Linked DNA regions of Homo sapiens: all the other regions are linked to region 1. The links are contacts of gene promoters, found by promoter capture Hi-C in blood cells and fetal thymus (Javierre and others, 2016). All regions are on one chromosome and are shown on one strand. Each heading gives the region's core, a stretch centred on a gene start or on the middle of the fragment in contact. The rest is flanking DNA. Distances are from core to core; before and after follow the strand shown. Region 1 holds the start of EDAR (ectodysplasin A receptor). Region 2 holds the start of SOWAHC (sosondowah ankyrin repeat domain family member C). Region 3 overlaps SEPTIN10 (septin 10). Region 4 has its middle 88 kb from the start of SEPTIN10. Region 5 has its middle 100 kb from the start of SEPTIN10.

Evidence for each region. The method cuts DNA at HindIII sites, captures the fragments that hold promoters and counts their contacts. A CHiCAGO score of 5 or more calls a contact.
Region 2: the fragment with the promoter of SOWAHC here is called in contact with the fragment with the promoter of EDAR in region 1 in 8 of 17 cell types (naive CD4 T cells, fetal thymus, non-activated CD4 T cells and 5 more); the score reaches 10.2 in naive CD4 T cells.
Region 3: a fragment that was not itself captured here is called in contact with the fragment with the promoter of EDAR in region 1 in 4 of 17 cell types (naive CD4 T cells, M2 macrophages, M0 macrophages and 1 more); the score reaches 6.1 in naive CD4 T cells.
Region 4: a fragment that was not itself captured here is called in contact with the fragment with the promoter of EDAR in region 1 in 8 of 17 cell types (non-activated CD4 T cells, M0 macrophages, naive CD4 T cells and 5 more); the score reaches 10.1 in non-activated CD4 T cells.
Region 5: a contact is called between a fragment that was not itself captured here and the fragment with the promoter of EDAR in region 1, in 15 of 17 cell types (naive CD4 T cells, non-activated CD4 T cells, total CD4 T cells and 12 more). The highest score is 33.5, in naive CD4 T cells.

What each region holds. Positions count from the first base shown.
Region 1 is chr2:108,987,642-108,991,045 of GRCh38, forward strand. It overlaps EDAR (ectodysplasin A receptor), which reads right to left and starts at 1,579. Exons shown (of 12, transcript NM_022336.4): 1 at 1,319-1,579. It also overlaps a transcript of RANBP2 not described here. RefSeq lists an enhancer at 52-553. The HindIII fragment of the contact is 677 bases long and covers 1,187-1,863 here.
Region 2 is chr2:109,612,886-109,616,289 of GRCh38, forward strand. It overlaps SOWAHC (sosondowah ankyrin repeat domain family member C), which reads left to right and starts at 1,479. Exons shown (of 1, transcript NM_023016.4): 1 at 1,479-3,404. The coding sequence starts at 1,605. The coding sequence ends at 3,182. SEPTIN10 (septin 10) reads right to left here and starts at 1,081. Exons shown (of 11, transcript NM_144710.5): 1 at 913-1,081. The coding sequence starts at 942. It also overlaps a transcript of RANBP2 not described here. RefSeq lists an enhancer at 1-880 and silencers at 733-822, 853-1,102, 1,363-1,532. The HindIII fragment of the contact is 4,568 bases long and covers 1-3,404 here.
Region 3 is chr2:109,544,607-109,548,010 of GRCh38, forward strand. It overlaps SEPTIN10 (septin 10), which reads right to left. Exons shown (of 11, transcript NM_144710.5): 10 at 1,444-1,631. It also overlaps a transcript of RANBP2 not described here. Among named protein-coding and RNA genes, the nearest start is that of SEPTIN10, 68 kb to the right of the region's middle. The HindIII fragment of the contact is 624 bases long and covers 1,576-2,199 here.
Region 4 is chr2:109,524,335-109,527,738 of GRCh38, forward strand. It overlaps a transcript of RANBP2 not described here. Among named protein-coding and RNA genes, the nearest start is that of SEPTIN10, 88 kb to the right of the region's middle. The HindIII fragment of the contact is 6,274 bases long and covers 1-3,404 here.
Region 5 is chr2:109,507,674-109,511,077 of GRCh38, forward strand. It overlaps a transcript of RANBP2 not described here. Among named protein-coding and RNA genes, the nearest start is that of SEPTIN10, 100 kb to the right of the region's middle. The HindIII fragment of the contact is 5,398 bases long and covers 1-3,404 here.

The DNA of each region.
Region 1 (3,404 bases), core at 329-2,828:
GTGCTGTCACAAATTAATCCTCCCACAGCACAGCCTGGCCCACTTAGGGATGGGGAGGGGTACAGTGGAGACCCCCGGCCAATCGCCACCAGGATCGCCAAACTTTCCCAGCCGTGAAGGGTACACGTGGACTGTCATCGGAACGAACGCTTATTTCCAAGCCTTGACCAGAGTCACTCTCTTTTTGGTGGCCTCTGTCAAAATGTATCTTTAAAGGTTTTAAGTGGCTATGACTTACAAATCTCAGAGTATTAAGCCAGGCAAGAAACATTCTCTATTTTAGATGCCTGGATCCCTTTTTTCCTTCAGTCTATTATGGCTCTTCACTTCTTTGTTACACTTTCACTCTTGCTTAGAAAGTGTCTCAAAAATGCCACTTGAGAGCCACAGAGCAGTGGCCTGGGGACTGGGGAAGAGGACGGTGGTGCTCCTGTCTCTCCGTACGTCTCCTCACATGCGTGTACCCCTGGCTGTGTGGGATTGCCCACTGACCGGCATCTGCCCTGCTTGTTGATTTTAACTGTCCCTCTTGTTGCTGACCCAGCACAACATGGGCAGGGAAACCCAGTGGGAACCTCGCCTGCTGACCTCCCTGCCCAGCCACCCGCTTCTCCCTGAGCTGACATCTCAAAGCTTGGCTGCTGCAGGAGGCTGGGAATCAGAGCCGACTGAATCAGAGCCGACTCCTGTCTAGGAGCCCAACCCACCCCACGGTCTGTCAGAGTGTTGAGAGGAACCTCTTGGCTGGAAATGAAAACCTCAATCATCACAAATAGGTACCCACTCCCCTCCTTCTCTCCCTCTCCCCGCTCCCCCGCCACCAACACAGAGGCCAGGATATGGGGGGTCTCAGACACGACTGGAAACCCCACTTGGAAGGTCTCTTAGGTCACAGCGGGTACGCAGAGTTGGAGGCAGGTACAGAGCCCAGCTAGAGTCCCTGCCGCGCCTGCCTTCCCCAGTGAGCCGGGCACAGGGGCAAACCTGAGAAACATACTTTTCACGCTCCCTGGAGGAACCCGTTGCTTCAGTAGCCCAAATCTTAAAGCCTGTGAAGCACACACAGAATTTGTCTCCCTAACCAAATGTGCAACCAACAGCAAAACAGGGTTTCTGATGTTTTTCTAAAACAAAGGAACAATCTCAGGTCTTAGAACTGGTAGCGCAGACATACTGCAATCGGTAAAGCTTGTTCAAACGCAACCCAAAAATGACATGCATTTCAAAAATGCACCCAGCCTCTCTCCCAGCCCATGACACCTCCGTCTCGGCCACAGCTGAAGAGTTTAGAAAACCAGAGGAAAGGACCAGGGCTTACCTGGCTTCTGTTGGAGGTCAGCTTCAGTCCCAGCAGAAGATGGGTCTATGAAGAAAGTCAGGTACCATCCAGTTCTGGGTGACAGGCTTCACAGGTGGCCACCGTGGCAGCCCTCTCAGAAGCAGGTACTCTATGTCCTTAGGGGCCAGCAGGGCTGCCTGGGACCTGGCACACCTCTCTGACACTAGCCCCGCTTCCTTTCCGTTTAAAGGGCTTCCCGGGAACTCTTCCTTGACCGCTCCCTGCCCTGTCTGCAAGTTTGGAAACTCAGTCCTTGCCGAGGGGCTTTCCCTCATTGCAAACTCACCTGCACCATCTAGAGGTCTCTCCCAGCACTGGAGAGGCTGGAGCGGGCACGTTCAGCCCTGCTGCCATAGGTCCCTGGCACACCTGGCTCTCCGGCCGTCTGCCCCTTAAGAGATCTGTTGGAATGCGTAAAAATCATGGATTTTTTTTTTTGCAGGGGTGGGGGCCTTGCTTCTATCAGAGCCTTTAGGCGTGGGAGTGCTAAAAAGCTAAACTAGCATTAAAATATCATTAATCAAAGCTTGTTCGTAGAAGGACCCCCCACTGAGATGGCTACAGGCATGGGTGCCACTGCACGGATTCAGCTTCCAACATGTCTGTTCACATTCTCACCCATCCCCCGCACATCCCTCAGGGTTTGAGCCACCAGGACTGCTCTTCCTTTCCTCTCTCTGGACACCTCACACCACCAGTGTATACCCATGTAACTTCAGATAACCATACACACCCCCCGTATAACTAGGTAATTAGGAAGCCATTTGAAACATCAACATTTTGAAAGGACATACCTTTCAGTATTGGGCAATTATTTCTCAAAAAGTAAATGATTGGGGGGGGGAAAACAGCCTTAAAATAATGTCATTCTCTTGTCATTTTCTCCCTCATTCACACCTACACAGATAAATACAGGAACAGAGCAGCTCCTCCAGGCTAGATTTCTGTGTTCTCCTTTTCCATCTTGTCCCCTCTGCCTTGGAAACCTACAAGGTAACTCACACATGAGAAAGTAAGAGCTTAAGAAAGAAACAGTCTGGGCTCCGTGGCTCACACCTGTAACCCCAGCACTTTGGAGGCTGAGGCGGGCAGATCACTTGAGGTCAGGAGTTTGGGATCAGCCTGGCCAACATGGTGAAACTCCGTCCCTACTAAAAATACAAAAATTAGGCCGGGCGCGGTGGCTCACGCCTGTAATCCCAGCACTTTGGGAGGCCGAGGCGGGTGGATCATGAGGTCAGGAGATCGAGACCATCCTGGCTAACAAGGTGAAACCCCGTCTCTACTAAAAATACAAAAAATTAGCCGGGCGTGGTGGCGGGCGCCTGTAGTCCCAGCTACTCGGGAGGCTGAGGCAGGAGAATGGCGTGAACCCGGGAAGCGGAGCTTGCAGTGAGCCGAGATTGCGCCACTGCAGTCCGCAGTCCGGCCTGGGTGACAGAGCGAGACTCCGTCTCAAAAAAAAAAAAAAAAAAAAATATACAAAAATTAGCCGGTGGTGGCATGTGTGGAGGCTAAAGCAGGAGAATTGTTCGAACCCAGGAGATGGAAGTTGCAGTGAGCCGAGATTGTGCCACTGCACTCCAGCCTGGGCAACAGAGCGAGAATCTGTCTCAAAACAGAAAAGAAAAGAAAAGAAAAAAGCAGACAGAAATGTATGGGGCTGGGGCAAGGACCTAGACTGTAAAGGACTAATTCTGCCTCCACAGAGATTAAGCTGAACCAGAGTTACTTAGCTGACTTGATCCTTGTGGATGATTAATCTAGATAATATAAGCTCCCAAACAAGAATTTTAACTTGAATTTTCAGGTTTGGTTGTCTACCCTGCTCATGCCGAGTTCAGACTGAGGGTCTGTGATAAATTAAAGTCACTGAAATTATTAAATTAGGAACCTGGGAAAATGAATGGGAGGTATTCTGGGCTAATCTGTTCTACTCCATATAATTTTTACTTTCTGGTGTGCTCACAGTGTGTTTGAGGTTTGGGATTATTTTAGGTGTAACTAAAACATTTTTTCTATTGGAAATTAAGTGGTGATTTAAAATTTACCAAAAGGAATGATA
Region 2 (3,404 bases), core at 229-2,728, 630 kb after region 1:
CTAATCTCTCAGCCTGCAATCTGAACTGTTTCTACAATTTAAACTTCTCATGTAGGAGGTTGCTTAGTAGAGTGGTTCTCAAACTTTTTGGTCTCCAGCCTCCAAAGAGCTTTTGTTTACACAGATGAAAACCACCAATGTTTACTATCAAAAATTAAAAGGGAGAATTTGTTTTTAAGAATACACAGGCATCGGGCCTCCAAACGGCGGTGAGATCACTCCATACCATGTAGCCTTTGGAAAACTCGATGTACACGACCTTGGTACTATTAACGAAAATAGTTGTAACCACACTTGGAAAACCGCTGGCTTACTAACAAGCGAGATAAATCTACAAAAGTAACTGGAAAGGTTCAAAACAGTGAACAAACGCGTTCTTTTAGAGTACAAAAGAGTCAAGGCGGGAAAAAAACGGTTTAAAATCCCAATGGAGGAAAACTTGGACGACCACACCATCGGATAAAACGGGAGAGCTTTTGAAAAGCCAGGGGAGCCGGGCTTTCTCCCGGCGGCAGGGAGGCTCGGAAGTGCTCACGGCTGCAAAAGATGACCGCTATTCAATCAGTCCGCACTGCGCCTTCAACTCCGTTATAGCCGTAAGAGACCCACAAACACCGCTGTGGATGTAACTTTTGGCAAAGACCGGGAAGTCGTTCAAGAACTCTCCCACCGTCCCGACGCTGGCGCCGCGCCCCGCGAACCGGGGTCCGGCCGCGCCCAGGCTCCGCAGAGGCTCCTCTCCCGCCCCAGGCGCCCGGCCGCCGCGGAAGCCGGGGAGCACTGGGCGGGCGGGGCCGGAGGGGGCGCGGGTCACAATCCCGGGCCGGACCAGGGGGCCGGTGGGTCGAGGGCGGGAAGTCCCGCGGGGGCCGGGGAGCGCGGGGCTGGGGCCCCGGCGTCGGCGGGACTCACCAGGTGCCGCGCCACCTCGGAGGAGGCCATGGTCGCGGGCAGGGGCACGGTGAAGCGGCTGTATCAGCCCGGCCCCGAGCGGCTGGTCCCGGCGACGGCGGCGGGAAGGCCGGAGGGCAGAAGCAACGGGCGGGGCGCGAGGCTAGGCTGCCTCCGCGACGGGGAAGGGACAGGGGCGGGGCCGAGCTGGAGGCCTCCGGGGGCGGGGTTGGGGCGGACGCCCTGTGGTGCGCGCTGAGCGTTTTGCCTGCGCCAAGCGAGCCCCTCACAGGAGCTACCCTCGACGCCTGAGGACTGAGCGTCAGCGTTGGGGCGGGCTGAAGGAGAGCTGGGACTCCAGGAAGACGGCGCGAGGAATGCAGGCGGGAACTGCGGAGCAGTGATTGCGGCCCTCGCGAGGCCGGAAGTGGGCGGGCCTTGAGGCGAGGCCGCCCTAGGTAGGTGTGGCCGAGACAGCGGGGAGCGGAAGTGGGCGTGGCCTGGTGGCGTGGGCGCGGGGCGGGGGTGCGGGGGGCGTGTCCGCCCGGGCGCGGCCCAGTGAGGCGGTGGCCGAGTCCTCTGGCCTCAGACGCGTAGGCTGGCAGCCCGCTGAGCCCGCCAGACTCCGCCGCCGTCGGGAGCCGGCCGCTGGGAGCCCGTCGCTATGGGACCGCGCTGAGCCGCCCGCTGGCGGGGGAGCAGCGCGGTCGAGGATGGAGGGGCCGGCAGAGTGGGGCCCCGAGGCGGCGCTGGGCCCCGAGGCGGTGCTGCGCTTCCTGGCGGAGCGCGGGGGCCGGGCCCTGCACGCCGAGCTGGTGCAGCACTTCAGGGGCGCCCTAGGCGGCGAACCGGAGCAGCGCGCCCGCGCCCGCGCGCACTTCAAGGAGCTGGTGAACGCCGTGGCCACTGTGCGCGTCGATCCCGCCGACGGCGCCAAGTACGTGCACCTCAAGAAGAGGTTCTGTGAAGGGCCGTCCGAGCCCTCCGGGGACCCGCCGCGAATCCAGGTGACCGCCGAGCCCGAGGCCCCCGACGGCCCTGCCGGGCCCGAGGCGCGCGATCGGCTCCCCGACGCGGCGGCCCCGGAGTCGCTCCCTGGACAGGGCCGCGAGCTGGGCGAGGGAGAGCCCCCCGCCCCCGCGCACTGGCCGCCCCTGAGCGCCGGGGCTCGCAGGAAGAACTCGCGGCGCGACGTGCAGCCCCTACCGCGGACTCCAGCCCCGGGGCCCAGCGAGGACCTGGAGCTCCCGCCACATGGCTGCGAGGAGGCGGACAGGGGCAGCTCCCTTGTGGGGGCTACCGCACAGAGGCCGGCCCGCCAGAACCTCCGTGACCTGGTGATGGGCAGCTCCCCGCAGCTGAAGAGGAGCGTGTGTCCCGGGGGCAGCAGCCCGGGCAGCTCCTCCGGGGGAGGACGCGGCAGAGGCGGGGGCGACTCAGACAGCGCATCGGTGGCCTCGTCGTCCGCGGAGGAGGAGAGCAGCGGCGGAGGCTCCGTGACGCTGGACCCCCTGGAGCACGCGTGGATGCTCTCTGCCTCCGATGGCAAGTGGGACAGCCTGGAGGGCTTGCTCACCTGCGAGCCCGGCCTGCTGGTCAAGCGGGACTTCATTACCGGCTTCACTTGCCTGCACTGGGCCGCCAAGCACGGCAGGCAGGAGCTTCTGGCCATGCTAGTCAACTTCGCCAACAAACACCAGCTGCCGGTGAACATCGACGCCAGGACGAGCGGGGGTTACACCGCCCTGCACTTGGCAGCCATGCACGGCCACGTGGAGGTGGTGAAGCTGCTGGTGGGGGCCTACGACGCCGATGTGGACATCAGGGACTACAGTGGGAAAAAGGCCTCCCAGTACCTGAGTCGGAGCATCGCCGAGGAGATCAAGAACCTGGTGGGAGCCCTGGACGAGGGTGACGGGGAAAGCGCCGCGGGTAGCGGCGGCGGGCGCTGGAGGCTTTCAAAGGTGCTTCCCTCGCATCTCATCACCTACAAACTCTCACACGCCCTAGAAGATGGAGGGGACCATCACCACCATCACCACTCGGCTGAGGGGTGGGTCGGAGGCAAAGCCAAGGATCCAGGGCGCAAAGCCTCGGGCAGCTCTAGTGGACGTATAAAACCCAGACTCAACAAAATCCGATTCAGAACCCAGATCGTCCACACCACACCCTCTTTCAGGGACCCAGAGCAGCCGCTGGAGGGCAGGGGGGAGGAGGGAGTGGGGGAGGAACGACCTGTTAAAGGCCACTCGCCCTTCACATTGAGACCAAAGTCCAATGTATTTGGGTAAAAATTGCTTCTTTTAGAAAATGCAAAGGTTTATTTGTCTTAATAAATTGAATACTAGGTGTTGTAAGGAAGTGAGACCAGAAGGACAAGCTAAATTATGCATTCTTACTTGAGGGATCGGAATGGATGGGGCGGAGTTCTCTTCAGGCTAGCCTTCTGGGAAAAGTGGATGTCTTTTTCAGAGATTCATCATACCTTGACCTGTACCTCTTCTCTGCCCTCC
Region 3 (3,404 bases), core at 638-3,137, 560 kb after region 1:
GAAAAAATGGGAAATCTAATTTTAGTAACACTGGGTTAAGATGAAAGGAAAAAAGGTATTAATAAAAGATCCATTAGCTTTAAAATCCAAAGCATGTTGAAAAGCAGTAATAAATTTATAGTTTATCTTTCTAAATTCAATGCTTGAATAAAATACAGCTTTTATACTATTTATTCTTTCAAAAATAATTGCATGCCTACTATGTACCAGACAACTGCTCTAGGCTCTGGGGATGGCTATATCAATGAACAAGATAAAGATCCATGCCCTTGGAGAGCTTGCATTGAAAGATCATACATGAGAATTCCTTCCTCTTTTCCAAAAAAACAAACAAACAAACAAAAATACCTGTAAAATATATAAGCCAATAAAATCTGCCAAAGTCCTGTGGTTTACTTCTCCATATTTAAAAATTGAAAGCCACCAATGGGCCAAGGTTATGTTTTCCTATTTTAAAGTTGAGTTGCAATATTCTGAAAATGGGTCTGAAATAGATGCAGTGAGAGCATTAAACCAGATGTGTTGCTCTGTGGGGAACATGGGAGCATGCAACGCTGCTAGCACAGAGGTAGCTAGAGTAAACTGAGGCAGAGTCCCCCAAATGAGCATTCTGAATAGAACAAGGCATGATGAATTTCCTCAAGAGCCAAATAGTTAAACCGACAGGGATACTTAAGTGGGAGAAATAAAACAAGGGACACAAAGTACAGAAGGAAATTATCAAAAAGGAAAAATAAACTTATTTTCTAAAACTTGGGTAACTGATTTTAACACATACCCCAAACCTACACGCCTTGCGATTATCATCCACATGCTACTCATGGCTGCCCCCTTGCACTGTGGCCCTCTCTACCTTTCTCTGCGTCTTTACGTCCACCATTGGTTTCACAAGCTCTGACATCAATGCACAGGAGTTCGAATCGACAGCCTGGTTCCCTTATTAAAATAAAAATTCTCACAAAATCAGTATCAGTAGAATTTGTTCTAAAAAACTGAACCTAAGAATTAATTCAATAAAATACTATCTTATGTCTATAATTCCCCAACAAAGGGCACAGCTTTATTTAGACATGAAATTCAAAATAACTCATGGTAGGTCAGCAGCCATTAGCTGTGTACTAGGGCCACGGCTGGGCTATTCAATAAGAGCAGCCATTTTCCCCCAGCTAACTGATCCTTTTCACACTGTGATGTATTTTTATTTTGTTCATTCATTCATTTTGGCAAATACTGAACACATAACATGTGCCAGGTGCTGTTCTGGATGCTGGGGAAACAGCAGTGAACAAGAGGGACAAGGTCTCTCCTCTCCAGGAGCTGACATTTAGTTGGAGAAGGAAGACAAAGCATAAGGAAGCAGAAGTAAGAAGCGCTAGGAAGATCCGACAGGGCAATGTGACAAGTGTGGGCAGGGCTGCCAGGGAGGGTGGCTGGGCCTCTTACTTCTTACGGTCCTTGTCCTTCCTCAGGTTGCTGCCTGTTGCCAGAAAGGACTGGCTGTGAAATATCTCGGAGGTAGCTTTCTTTTTAGAGAAAGCAATTATTTCTTCTTCCAAAAGTCTTCTCTTTTCTTCAAGCTTCATTCTCTCTTCTTGGTGAAGTCTCTTAAGGTGCTCAAATTTGGCCTGTAGCTGGAAACAAAAGTGCAATCCCCACTACTGACACAGCGCGGCAGCAGAGGCACGCTCTCCAGCTCAGCAACACAAAGGCGGACCCCATAGCGCAACACAGAATAACCTACACAGTCAAAATCTTTCTGAAGTCTCAGAAGTTCATAGTTCAAGGAAAAGTTTACATATGGAATTCCCTTGGTAACTTTAATTTAAATGAGTTCCCATGCAAAAATCATAGCTTTATGTACAAAACTATTTTTAAAACATTGTGAACTTTTCCTAGAGTTTTTATTTTCTCGGTGTGTATTTTCCCTACAAAACTTCTTAAAGTCTCTCAAGTCCATGCTCAATAAAAATAAGAGATGCAAAGTATAGAAAGAAATTACCAGAAAGGAAAAAAACAACAACACTATTTTCCAAATAAAATATATGCAGTAAACAGTTATTGAAAACTGTACTAGTAAACATCACTGGAAAGCAAGTGTCAATTGTCAACTATGTCAAGAATGTTAAAACTGTATTCTATTTTTCCATAGTCTTTCAATGTCCTGAGATCTAGGCTTAAAAAAATCCTAAATTCAGAGAAAGCTTTACATATAAAAATACTCATCATAGTAGAATTTACACTATAATAGGAAAAACATTGCCTACATAGCCAATAAAGATAAAGAATAAATTAATGCTAAATACATTTGATGCAGCTGTAGGAGAGCAGAATGTGCAGGACTGTTGAGCTGAGGGCAACTAAGAAGCAGCAGATACAGGAAAGCTCTCTGACCTCCCTTTAGGCGCCTAAAGGCAGGATACAGATGTACAAAGAAAAAAGGTATCCAGCCCCCTTCCCCAACCAGGGAGAACAAAGGTTAACCACCAAAGACAACTTCAGACCCTTTTGGGCCTGGAGACTGGTACCAGACAGCTCTACATTAACTAGCTTTACTGACTAGCCTTCATCTGCCAGCTATGTGCCTTCCTCCAAGTTGCTGCCTCTAGAGACTCCAAGTCCTTTTCCTTTGTCTTGTCATTTCTGTAAAAATTAACTGTTCTTTGTTGAAGATGCTATAGAAGGTAGAATGCAGTCGCCTCTTTGAGAACTACTCATTGACTGTATCACCCCTGTATATGTGAAATATACATGCTAATAAACTTGTTTTTTTTTTTTTTTTTTGGTTAATCTGAAAATAAGGGGTCATTCCAATAAGAACCTATAGGGGTTATTCTTCCCGTATACAACTGTTAAATGAGTTTCAAGAGATTTCTCTTAAGTGAAAAAAGCAGAAGAAAAAATTATTTAAAGAATACAATTCAGCAGTTTTTCACCTCCTTGGGGCTGAAAATCATCTTGATAAACCATATAAAGGGAGCAATGTCACCTTAGATGTCAATTTTGGGGCAGGCCTTTTAATTTATTTTGTTCCACAATTTAAGGAATGCCCTATATGGATCATAGAAGGCATATTTCTCAAAGCTATGAAGGGCATAAAACTCTGGAAACTTACAAATAAAAAGGAAGCTTTAAAACAACTGGGATATACCAAAAGAAAACATCTATCTAACGTTTTTACCATGATGGCTGGCACTGAGTAAGCACTCGATAAATATTAGCCATTGTTAATAACAAAAAATAGGAAACTCAGCTTGCTCCAGCTGCCACCCTGGGTAGTTCTTTCTGTGTCCTGTGCTCTGTTACAGGTGCAAAAGAGAAACCCTTAGCACACATGTGCTGGGGTAACTGTGGGAGCAACGTCTCCCTGAGGATTACTTAGGAGCTATGTCTTTTTCATTTTTATA
Region 4 (3,404 bases), core at 293-2,792, 540 kb after region 1:
GATTTGAATGAGATCATGTGTGTGAAAGCCGGAGTGAAGCAGCCATAACACGCTCTGTGAATATCAGCTCCTGCTAGGGATCTTAGGGTGACAGAGTGGGACCCTGTCTCAAAAAAAAAAAAAAAAAAAAAACAAAACAACACTGGGCGCGATGGCTCACGCCTGTAATCCCAGCGCTTTGGGAGGCCGAGGTAGGCAGATTACTTGAGGCTAGGAGTTCGAGACCAGCCTGGCCAACATGGTGAAACCCTGTCTCTACTAAAAATACAGAAATTAGCCAGGCGTGGTGGAGCATGCCTGTAATTCCAGCTGAGGCAGGAGAATCTCTTGAACCTGGGAGGCAGAGGTTGCAGTGAGCTGAGATCGCGCCACTGCACTCCATCCTGGGTGACAGAGAAAGACTCCATCTCAAAAAATATATAAATAAATAAATAAAAATTAAAATTAAAAAATCTAAAAAGGCCTTCCATTTTTAAATTTTTAAGGGTTTCTAAATGAGAAAGTCCTAATTATAGAATATATAGAAAAGAAGGGAAAAGAATCAAGAAGGAAACAAATGGCACATGGAATTCCCAAGCCCTGGGTTCCTCCTCGGCGCAGATCTTCAGTTATGTTCCTTTCAGCAGGGTCAGGATTCATCCGTCCTCTGCATCTTCACTCAGTGCTTCTGCAGCTGCCTGCTGTCCCCACATCACAGACTAGTTCAACACTTTCCCATGGTGGGCATTTAGGCTCCTTACCGTTGTTTTTTTTTTTTTTTTTGTGGTTATGGATGAGGCTTCAGCAAATATCCCTTGACATCATTTTTGTTTTTGTTTTTGTTTTTTGTTTGGTTTTTGAGACAGAGTCTCACTCTGTCACCCAGGCTGGAGTGCAGTGACGCGGTCTTGGCTCACTGCAACCTCTGCCTCCCGGGTTCGAGAGATTCTTCTGCCTCAGCCTCCTGAGTAGCTGGGACTACAGGCATGTGCCACCACGCCCAGCTAATTTTTTTTGAATTTTTACAAGAAATAGAGACAGGTTTTCACCATCTTGGCCAGGCTGGTCTCGAACTCCTGACCTCAAATGATCTGCCCACCTTGGCCTCCCAAAGTGCTGGGATTACAGGCATGAGCCACCATGCCTGAGGGCTGAAAGTGCTAGTTACCTGCACCCTCACCAGCCGGAGCCCCACAGGCCTACACTCCCCGAGCTGACGCCAACCACAAAGTGGTGGGCTGGTGACGTGAACCCCAGGGCACTGCAGCCATGAGGAGGTCCAGCACCCGGCATTCAGGGCAGGATGGAAACATTCCTGGACAACAACTTGGTCACCATCAGGGTAGCTCAGGACAACCTGCTCGGTGCCCATTTGTTGTAAGATGCCAGAGAGGAGGCTCTCAGTGGCCCTCTGGCCACTGTCCTTACTAGCAAAAGCAGCCTCCTCCCTAAATCATTGATGCGTTTCCTACTTGCACTTCCTACCTGCTGGAGGCCTGTCCTGGATGTGGCTCCGAGTTTCCTCCTCTGTTCAGGTTTTGGGATCTCTCTGGTCCTACCATTGTCATTGGAAGCAGATGGAGGGTAATTTTCTTTGTGCTGCTATTGCTAATTTTCCCAGCTCAGAAGCCTCAGCATTAACAGTCTCTGCAGCCCACTGTGGCCCAGTGAGTGGGGAGGTGGTGTCACCCAGGTTCTGGAGCTGCTCGCAATCCCGAGCACCAGAGCCACCACAACCAGTCACCATCAGGGCCCCTGACACACGCCCACAGGTGACCAGGAATCAGGGCACAGTAAGCACCAGACTAAGTTCCTTATGTCTTTTCACAGATGCTATTTCCCTCTTTTGTCTCTCAGGAAAGCTCATCTGCCACCCTCTGAGACCTCAAATTCGAGGCACAGGCTTCCTTTCTTGGGTTTAAGCCCAGGGCTGCCTGCTGTTGCCTGTGGCCCTGGGCAAGGCACCAGCCTCTCTGAGCCACTCTCACCTCCTTTTTATTTTTTATTTTTTTGAGATGGAGTCTCATTCTGTCGCCCAAGCTGGAGTGCAGTGGTCTGATCTCAGCTCGCTGCAACCTCCACCTCTGGGGTTCAAGCAATTCTCGTGCCTCAGCCTTCCAAGTAGTTAGCTGGGACTACAGGCATGTGCCACCATGCCTTATTTATTTTTGTATTTTTAGTAGAGGCAGGGTTTTGCCATGTTAGCCAGGCTGGTGTCGAACTCCTGACCTCAAGTGATCCACCTGCCTTGGTCTCCCAAAGTGCTCGGATTACAGGTGTGAGCCACCACGCCCGGCTCACCTCCTCTTTGAATGACACCAGAAAGCAGACTTTCTGGAGGCCCAAGGGTGGGAGGAAGTGCACGGATGTGTCTGCCATGCACTCTGGCACAGGGGGCTCACCGATGACAGCTGCAATTGATATTCTCCCCGGCTCTTGGGTCCCCAGATGCACCCTCTCTCCACCCTTGCCTGGGACCACCTCAGCCTGGTGAATTCCTATTCAACCCTCTGGTGGGCTGCTTCCTCTCTAGGAGACCCTCTCTGATGGCCTACAAATGTGTTCTCAGAGATGTGTCTGCCTCAGCCAGCACATGTTCGACTCTAGCACGAGGCTCGAGCCTGCCTGCGTGGGGGCTGGGTATGCACAAGGACTTGGTGTAGTGTCTAATGAGGATAGTGCTTGCCATAAAGCTCACACTTGACAAATTGTGCTTGACCAATTAAATGTCTTAATTTAGCTTATAGAAATAATGGATTTTTACAATAGCTACCAGATGACCCTACACACACACACGTGCACAAATACACATACCTACAAATGTTTACATGTGCAACACCTCACACAAACCCACACGAAGCAGATGTGTGTGCCTGAACCCAGCTCAGCCAAAGTGCATCCATCAGCTGCCGCACGCCTTCACTGTGCTGGTCCTGGAGACTAAGCAGAGAGGCCTGGGCCCCAGGCAGCCCATCTCTGGAAAACCAGTTGCTTGCCTAGGAAGCTGACACAGGCAGAACATGGTATGTTAGGACAAGGATGGTGTTTGTGTCCTTCCCCTGCAGCGGGAAAGGAGTTTGAGTAACATAAGAAACAGACGTGCTGGAGGCATTTCCCCACACCTGAGATGTGTCTCACAGATCCTAAACTCCAGAGACTGGGGAGCCACCATGGACTGGAAGACCCCCAAGAGGAATAACGCAGGCCCTGTGGGACCCTGGGCATGAGAACGGATGTCACTGGACCCACAGCCACATTAGGATGAATCCCATAGGTGAGTTCATAGTATCGAATCATGTGAATTTTCTAGGGTAGATTGTTTTAGTCACGTCAGGTGTTAATGTCGGGGGAGTGGCAGGGAAGGCATATGAGATTTCTGTATGAATTTTGCAACTGTTTTGTAGGTCTAAAATTATTTCAAAATA
Region 5 (3,404 bases), core at 448-2,947, 520 kb after region 1:
CATGGTAAGGGTTAAATCCCAGACACCCAAGAAAATGGCAGCAGCTGTTTGTCCAGGGCCCATCATTTGAACCTGCCCCAAAAACCAACTGGAATAAGTCAAAAGAGGACTTCTTGACTCAACTGAAAAGCTGAGGGCAGACAATCAGACGTGTGCAAATGATGGGGCTGGTGTTCCATGAGGACACTTGGCATTCTGCTGGACCTAGGGATGTGGGATATCTTGCAATGTGTACAATCGTCCCACGTGGGCAAAGCCTGTCCTGTCCCAAATGCCAAGAGTGGTGGGTTCACTAAGAAACGCTGGTGTAGATGAGTTTGCTTCAGGCATAGCTGGGTCCAGGTGCTCACATGACGTTTGTGGGTATTGCTGGGCTCTGCTGCCCTCCACGTGGCTCCTTCCTCAGCAGATTTCCCCATCTTACAGCACAATGAGGACCAGCAGGTTCAGGGTGCCATCTGACACCTTCCCCATCCCTGCAAAAATAGGCCTGCTCCTTCTCCATGGGCCCAGCCAAAACCCTGGCATTGACTCTCACTGGCTCCGTTTGGGCCCGTGCTGCCCTCCCTGACTCAGCCATTTTGGACAGGGGACATGTATATACTGATTGATAGCGCCTGAGGTGTCAGCCCTGCCCAGACTTCATGGATTGAGAGTGGGGGTGAGAAGATACACGTAGAGCTATTGGCAAAAACAAAAGGAGCTCATGACCGGGCAGACAAAAACTGCAGACGCACACTCCCCAGGGCCGCTCCTCCAGGACATTGCCCTGGAACCCCATGGCACTGTGCAAAAGCACGCGTCTTCCGAGGGCCACCATACCATATTTAGGAAAATGAGATATAAAAACTGGATCTAAAAGAAGTCCCAGAGGAAACGTCAACAGACGTGGACATCATTACAAATGTGAAGAAAGAACTCTTTATTTGGAAAAAGTAACGTTCTGTAATGTTCCAAAAAAAAAAAATGGAAGCAGATGAAAGCCTGGAGACAGCCAGGAAGTGTCACATGGGACACCCACTCACCACACCCCTCGATGGCCTGGCTTCACCCACTCACTTATCAGATCAGTGAGCAGTCACAGATGAATGTAAGTGCTCAGACAGGGCACCCCAGATAAGGCATGAAAGGAGAGACACAGCTGCCCACCCCAGCCAGAGTTCACATCTGGAGAGGAAGGCAAGCCGTGTGGGTAGTCATGGACTCGGCAGTCTGTGCCTGAGGAGCAAAGGCGCTACAAGCCCGGGACGGGGGGATGCAGTCCACTCCATGATGGGTCCCAGAGCGCTTCCTCTGGACGTTCTTGGCAAGAATACACAACACCAGCACATGAGTCAAGGAGCTCACAACCAGCTTACCCATTCCTGCCGGGAGAAATGGAAGGAAGTGCCCATCCGTCAGGGTCACACAGGACTTGCCTGGGTCTGGGCATCTTCTCTCCACCCCTTCCCACTCTACTCATTCATTCAACAGCTACTTCTGCTCTGGGCCCAGCACCAGGGTCACGGAGATGAATCCAGGCAAGAGGACCCACCTCATGTATTCAGGCCTTCCTGGAGGTCTGCCTGGTGGGGCCCAGCCGCCTGTCAGATTATGCGGTGTTTGGTGCTATGGAAAGAAGTGTGCAAACCCACGTGCCTGTATCAGTCACTTAGGCTGCCATATCAAAATACCATGCACTGCGTGGCTGAAACAACAGAAATATATTCTCTCAAAGTGCTGGAGGCTGGAAGTCCAAGGTTGAAGTTGCAGCAGGGTTGGTTTCCTCTGAGACCTCTCTCCTCGGCTTGCACACCGCCGTCTCCTCACTCTGTCAAGCAGCTGTGGCGGGTCGTCTTGCCCGGATTCATCTCTGTGCGTCTGTATCCAGTGTTCCTCTTCTTTTTAAAATGAATTTGTGTAAATTTATGGGGTGCAATTTTGTTACATGCCATAGTGGTCAAGTCAGGAGTTTTAGTGTATCCATCACCCGAATAACATACATGACATGTCCCCTTTAAGCAATTTCTCATCCTCCACCCCCTGCACCCTCACCCTTCTCACAAGGACACCAGTCAGGCCAGATTAGGCCCACCAATGGACTCATTTTAATTTAATCTCCAAGCAGAGACACACGCTGAGGCACTGGGGGCTAGGACTTCAACATATGAATTTTCGGGGAACATAATTCAGCCCATGTGCCTGTGCTCATGGAGACCAGGTCATAATGAAGTCAAAAGTTAAATTAATCAAAATAACTAGGCGATAGCTACCGGGCAAATACTATAGGGCAAAGTACTAAGGGATCGCAGGAAACTCTTATCTAGTTGGAGAGGTGAGGGGCATGGAGGGCCACTTAGAGGGTGTCCGGGTCTTATCTGGACCTCCACACTGTAGTCTTGTTTAGAAATTCACAAGGCAGGAAGAGGGGAAAGAATGTTCGGTTGGCGGGAACGGTGTGTGTGCACACCCCAACCCGAGGCTGGGGAGAGCTTGGCAGGATCAAGAAACTGAGGGAGCCCAGAGCAGGTGTGGAGGAGAGGGCTGAGGTGAGAATGGCCAGGGGTAGGTCTCTGAGCCTTCCAGGCCAGAAGCAGGAGGCAGTGTTTCCTGGGCTCTCAAGGGGTGTTTAGATGCAAACTGTGTCGGGAGCTCCCTCTGTTGGTGGCACAGGGAATGGCTCGTATGAATGTGGGAAGCTGGCACAGCAGATGCTGGGCAAAGGGCAAGGCGTCTCTGCCAAGGGGGCGGTGAGGGCATGTGGGGGAGCAGACAGCCCCGAGGGTCCTTTGACAAGTCAGTCCGATGTGGAGGCCGAGGGGAAGCCTTCCACATGTCCTAGAGGGAAACCCCGAGGTAGCTCTTCTCACATTTGTGCAGTGACTACCAGACTGAAGGAACCCCGGTTCCATCCTCACCCTCTGCAGCCCAGAGGGCTGATGGGGTCCAGGGCTTCATTTCTGTTCCTAGCCGGGACCAGGGGCTCTGAGCACCCACAGCCCCTTCCCAACAAAACAGCCACTTGTGTGTGCCATGGGGTGACCCCTCCTCCCTGCCCAGCCTGGGCTGGGGAAGGGCCCCGTCTGACCAGGAGCTGGCCTCCTCCAGCTAAAGCCAGGGTGAGCAGAGTGGGGCCCATGCTGGGTGACTGCAACAAAAGCAAGAGAGGCTTTCCTGCAGGGGAAGCGGCAGAGAGCAAAGGTGGGACGGGTGGCCGGAGCTATGGGGAGTGGGCCCTTCCAGGAGCCCCTGGCCTCCTCGTGGGTGCTGAAGATGGCAAGTGCGTGTTAAGCATGTACTAAGCCCACCCTCTGCGCCCGCCCCATGCTTAGCACTCTACATCCATTGCCTCGTTTTTGTCCTCACATCAGGCTTATGAAGTAGGAATTATGACCATGCAATTTCACAGATGGGGAAACTGAGGC